2 separate regions of the Homo sapiens genome follow, and region 2 is linked to region 1. Evidence: promoter capture Hi-C in 16 types of primary human blood cells and fetal thymus (Javierre and others, 2016). All regions are on one chromosome and are shown on one strand. The core of a region is centred on a gene start or on the middle of the fragment in contact, and the rest is flanking DNA. Distances in the headings are between cores, read along the strand shown. Region 1 holds the start of PSMA5 (proteasome 20S subunit alpha 5). Region 2 holds the start of TMEM167B (transmembrane protein 167B).

The links. The method cuts DNA at HindIII sites, captures the fragments that hold promoters and counts their contacts. A CHiCAGO score of 5 or more calls a contact.
Region 2: a fragment that was not itself captured here is called in contact with the fragment with the promoter of PSMA5 in region 1 in 1 of 17 cell types (fetal thymus); the score reaches 6.0 in fetal thymus.

What each region holds. Positions count from the first base shown.
Region 1 is chr1:109,425,100-109,427,909 of GRCh38, reverse strand. PSMA5 (proteasome 20S subunit alpha 5) reads left to right here and starts at 1,462. Exons shown (of 9, transcript NM_002790.4): 1 at 1,462-1,608. The coding sequence starts at 1,580. RefSeq lists enhancers at 902-961, 468-1,399. The HindIII fragment of the contact is 5,034 bases long and covers 1-2,810 here.
Region 2 is chr1:109,090,266-109,093,075 of GRCh38, reverse strand. It overlaps TMEM167B (transmembrane protein 167B), which reads right to left and starts at 2,312. Exons shown (of 3, transcript NM_020141.4): 1 at 2,194-2,312; 2 at 55-186. The coding sequence starts at 2,203. It also overlaps the pseudogene NDUFB3P1. RefSeq lists an enhancer at 2,479-2,678. The HindIII fragment of the contact is 772 bases long and covers 966-1,737 here.

The sequences.
Region 1 (2,810 bases), core at 213-2,712:
GTCAGAAAATAAAGGGTGGGGAAAACTAATCTTGGTTAATACTCAAAAGGCTTATTTTTACATTTCCTGCACCTTTGAAATGCCTTGGTGACTTACAAACCTAATCTAGGACCAAGAATGAACTTTACTGGAGAGATACAGGCCTTGAGAGGTTAAGGACTTGACTAGTGGTATCACATTAACAACTGGAAATGAGATGCTGGCATTTCCCTTTCCAGCATATACTGCCTGATAAATGATTTCTTTCCCCCGACTCCAGCTTTAAGGTGTAAGTGACAAATAGAAATTGTTCATGTTTATGGTATACAACGTGACGTTTTGATATACATATATATACACACACACACTGCAAATAATTAAATGAAGCTAATCAACATAATCCATCATCTCACATACTTTCCTGTGGTGAGAACATTTAAGGTGTACCCTCTTCACAATTTCAAGTACACAATATATGATTATTAACTATAGAACTCATCCACCTTCTCTGACTGAAACTTTGTATCATTTGACCAACATTTCCCTATATTCCCCACCCCCGTGCCAAGACTTCTTACTTGCCTTTCTTGAACAAATACTTGAATTACAGTGTTATTACGAAGCTGCAAAGTTGCTCCTCAAGCAACTTATTGAAGGGAAGCAAGAAGCGTCGAAAAAGAAAGCGCTTTTTTTTTTTTTTTTTTTTTCGGATAGGGTTTGGCTGTTGCCCAGGCTGGAGTGCAATAGCACGATCTGGGCTCAAAGAAAACACTTATTTTTCACAAACAACAGAAAAAGCAGTGAATATTTTGAAGTCTGGATCCTGAACTCTAGGTTATTTAGGTCTGAAACCTGTACTAGGGGGAGGGGTGCAAGAAAGAGTTGATAAAATTACCTTAACCATGTGGAAACTTTAAGACTTTCTTACATACTAACCCCTCGCCCCCCACTTTTCTCAATAAACGAGCCAAACTGGCTGAAACGAAGGGACTCGTCCGCGGCGCCGGCTCAGACCCACTGTAGCCGACTCATTACCGCCCAAAGTCCTGGAGCCCTCGACCGGGCATGGAGAACACCGTGGAGGAACCCTAAGAGAGGGAATCCTGCGAAGAGAAGTCAGGTGGTGGCCTTGCCGGAAACGGGACCAAAGTCCTCTAGCTGGGATTACGGGAGCCGGCGAGGGACCTATTATGTCAGGGTTCAGACAACCCAGCTCTGCATGCAAGCCTTTCCAATTGCCAGTCTTGGGGCGGGCTCACATCTTCTCTACAAGGCGAACTCACTACACGCCTTGGGTGCCTATCGTCCCTAGCAACCACCCGCGATTTAAGGCGGAAGTACCTCCCTGGTCCTCCTCCTCCTCCGGACCAACCAAGCCCTCGTGAGGAAGCGCGTTGGCCCAATCACCTAGGCGGGAACTACTACCAGCCAATAGGAAGCAGGCACAGGAGGGCGGGCTAAAGAGGTCGCGGTCGCACGCGCAGTTGGTCCTTAGTACTGCGGCCGTGTGGGTGAGTTGGCTGCCGGTGAGTTGGGTGCCGGTGGAGTCGTGTTGGTCCTCAGAATCCCCGCGTAGCCGCTGCCTCCTCCTACCCTCGCCATGTTTCTTACCCGGTCTGAGTACGACAGGTCCGTGCAGCTGGGGGACGTCGGGTGGGAATTATGGGTGGGCAGGCCCGGGACCTGGCCGCGCGGCCTGGGTTCTGCCGTGTCATGGGGCTCCCCAGGAACCCGAGACTGGCCGGACCTGGGGATGTTATGCCCTCCTCAGGCGCCCGCCGTCCTTCCCCAAGCTAGACCACATCGGCGGCACTTGTCCTACCGCTGAGTCACCCCTGGGTCCTAACTCGGTGCGGAAGCGAGAAGCTCCGGCTGGTGCTTGGTAAAGAAGGCGTGAGGAGCCGGAACTCCTACCTTGAACCCGGAGAAGGCCAAGGGTCACTCTTTGCTCCGTTCATCTTTTCGTGCCTAGTATGACTGCCTTGAACAAACAAACAAAAAGTTAAACGTGCTTCCTGGAAGAAAAAGCAACTGGTTTGTAGTAGGGCATGCTGCGGTGTATAGTTTCTTCAGAAGCGCGAAGGCAGTCGTAGCTTTGGCTGGATATATTGTCTGGAGTCTGATTTTATAGGAACTGGAATTTAGAATGGTTTTCAAGAGATTTCTCATCATGCCGATTCCAATTGACCAAAATTTTTTCTGACTTTTTAAAAGTTTAAAGCAAGTTTTAAAAAACTTTTGTGGTATGAAAATGTTCACAATATTAAGTTGTACATATATATGCTGTAGACATTTTTACTTTCAGTTTCTGTTTTCGTCAGTTAAGTTTTTACATAGCTACTCTTTTTTAAAGTCAGGGAAGGCAGACATTTTCTTTGTACTGAGTGGTATGAGATGCTGCATTTCCTGTCAAGTATATGCTGATCCTGTCGAAGTTTTACCACCTGCAGTTACCACTTTTTCATCTTTTTTACTGACTCGTAGAAGATGTGTGTGAAGTTTTGACATATTTCCCCACTGTCCTATAAAGTGACTTTGTTGGTCGATATTTAACTTCCAGAACATTGAAGAGAATCATCTTCGGGTGACATAATTTTGAGTTAGGGTGTGTATGATAGAAATTGTTATGCTTATCAGAAGGCATTTATTAAATTTTGTGGCCATTTACTTAACATATGTATTGACTGCTTTGTTACTTATTTTTCTGTCTTCCCAAGACGGCCTAAAATACATCCCTTTTTATTCTCTTAGTTAATGTGCTTGAGTGCTTGCTGTGAACAAGGCACTGTTCTAGGTGCTGGTGCTACAGCAATGGACAAAATCAAGCTCCT
Region 2 (2,810 bases), core at 102-2,601, 330 kb after region 1:
CTCCACACTGTCCAGAGATGGCAGTCTCTTCTCCCTGTCCAGACATGGCCTCACCTTTGTAAAACACACCCCAAACACCCTTCTTCTCTGATAGCAGCCAGGTTTTGAGACGAGGTACTTTCTTGAAGTAGGCACAGGTGCAAACAAAGAGCAAACCAAACACCAGAATCCCATCCAAGGAGTACACTGTTAAATAAAGAAGAAAAGAAAACCTTAGGTACTGATCTAGCGTCGGACCTGTGATCCCGCCTGAGAACTCTAAGGAAGATAGTGTGTGACATAATAACAAAATAATAACCTCAACAGGCAGTACTGACACTTGACAAGGGGGAGCCAGGATCCTGGGACTAACACGATTATTTTACTGTTCCCAAAAATTGCTTGTAGGAGGAAGGGGGATCAATTGAGCCCAGGAGTTCGAGGCTGCAATGAACTACGATCATGCCACTGCACTGTAGCCTGAGCAACAGAGTGAGACCCCAACTCAAAAAAAAATTTTTTTTTTTACATCCCCTTTACTAAAATGTCACTGGTCCTTCCCCTCACCTTTCAAGAAGTAGAAATCCTGGGCAGAAATTAGCATCCCAGGAATGACTAGTGTTGGCAATAGATTGAGACATATGAATCCTTAGAGACTCAGCACAGAGAATTTAACATGTTCTTGTTATAAATCACTCATATGATAAAGGAGAGCTAGATATGTAGCCAAAACTGTCAGATGTGCAACTGTTGGTGAAGAATATGTTAAGGCAAAAAATTAAGCTTAATGAAAGTTGCAAGAGTAAGAATCCACATGACTACAATTTTCCTATCATTATCTTACACTTTATGGATGATACTCTTAACAAACCGAATTTCTGCCAGAATAATAACAGATTTTTCTAAAACAAAGAAAAAGTATCTAAGGCTTCAACATAGAAAGCTTTAACTTCTTAGCTCTGTTTCTTAAATACATAAACCAAGCTTATTTCTTGTACAGGGAAGCACAATGAATCACCTAATTGCAAAAAACAAGAAGATATTGGACCACAAAATGGGGGAAGAATGACTAAAATTTATTCAGCAACTACCGTGTCAAACTGCTGTCTTACTTCCTGGTTCAGATTCTGTCTTCCTCTGGGTAAATTCCCTTTTCTTACTGTGCCTAGTATCCTGAGACCTCTGACTTCCCAGGAAGCTCCAAATGAATATTATATATAACCAGTGTCTGCCAGTTCTAGATCACACTACCTCTCTTCCTCCAGTAAAACTGTCTCACAGCTAAGCTGTCACTAAGAAAGGGTCCAGCAAATTAATACATACACTAAGGTTTTCTGAGGAACTATACCTTCACGTGCTACCCCTTTTCTCTCATAAGTTTCTGCAGACAATGCCAAAATTCACAAGGAGGTTAAATTCGAGTCTTCAGTGCCAGGTCTATGGACAAAGTACTTTTGAGAAATGCTTTCCGGAGCCCCTCAAATCATCGTAATGCCTAAAAGGCTTTCTCTTCTCCTTTCCTGTAAGGTTGACACTAAAAATCATGAAGGCCCTCCTTCCTGTCCTCCTCTGGAATTCAGAATTCATAAAGTGTTTGAAGAGGCCTGGAAAATTAGGTCAGATAAACTGCCTCATCATCTAGAAGAGGCAGTGTCTAAATCCACCCTTTGCAACACTAGTCAGGGTCTCCACGTGGGATCACCCCGCCAGGACTTTAAAATCAGAAATCTTTCCGGTATTTTTCCGTAAGAAGAAGCTTTTGTGGGGTCTACATTCACCAGCAACCCCAAAAGTGTGGGACTTGATATTCTATGTCATTTATTGGCCCTCTCAACAAAACTACGGTCCGAAAGCATGAGAACGCAGGGAGCTGGGAGGAGGAGCCTCTCTCTTCCCCGGGTTTAAATAGCAGTAGTACCTCTGGGACTGACCTCTCCAAGGGCCAGAAAGAACTAAGAAAAAGAAAAGGGAAAGCAAAGCATAGGGATAGATAACTCGAGGTGTGAGCATAAGAGGCACTGGGGGTCCTAGATGAATATGGGAAGGGGGAACCCGTAGAGGAGTATAGGGGTACAGAAGTTAGGGGCGTCGAGAGGCCAAGGGGGGCCGGGCTGGGAGGGGGCGGGGAGAACGGCCACGTCAGTCCCGGCCCCGCCCGCCACGTTTTCCCTTCGTCCTTCACTCCCACCCTCCGCTCAGGGCATCAGTTCTCACCGTTCGTCATGGCGGCTGGCCCTGGACCTGGGTAGGGGGTCCGGGTTCAGTGGTAATAGCGGCGGAGATGGGGGAGCGCCCGCTTGACACTTCCCGATCCGGGCCGAGGTGACTGGAAGAAGCCGTAGTACGCAGGAGCAAGGGCCGAGAGGCGAGCGCCGAACGCTATCAGGAGTGGCTAGCCGATTGTCGAGCTCGGGAAACTGCGTGTTTACGTAGGGTAAGAAGAACGCTATCTCGAAGGCTTCGTACTTGGCCGTGGTAACTAAGTCTTTTCTGCGTGCCCCTGCGGGCGTAGGGCTGGGGCTGGCCCGCGTCAGTGTGTTTGAAAAGGTAAAGGCTTGTAGTTTTGTAGTTTATTTTGCGCCGTGGCGGCTGCTGTGTGTAAGCAGCAGCCTACCTATGAGGTTTTCATCGTCCTGGGCTTCCACTTGAGAGAACTCCAGCACCGCGGGTGAAGAAGCCGCACCTGCGGCCTCCGTGACTGCCCTTGAGCTGCTCTTCCTTACTCCGGATGGAAATCTAGTCAGACTGCGTCTGAACGTTGCAAATGAAATGAGGAACCTTGTAACAAAAACAAGTCGCGGCCGGGCGCGGTGGTTCACGCCTGTAATCCC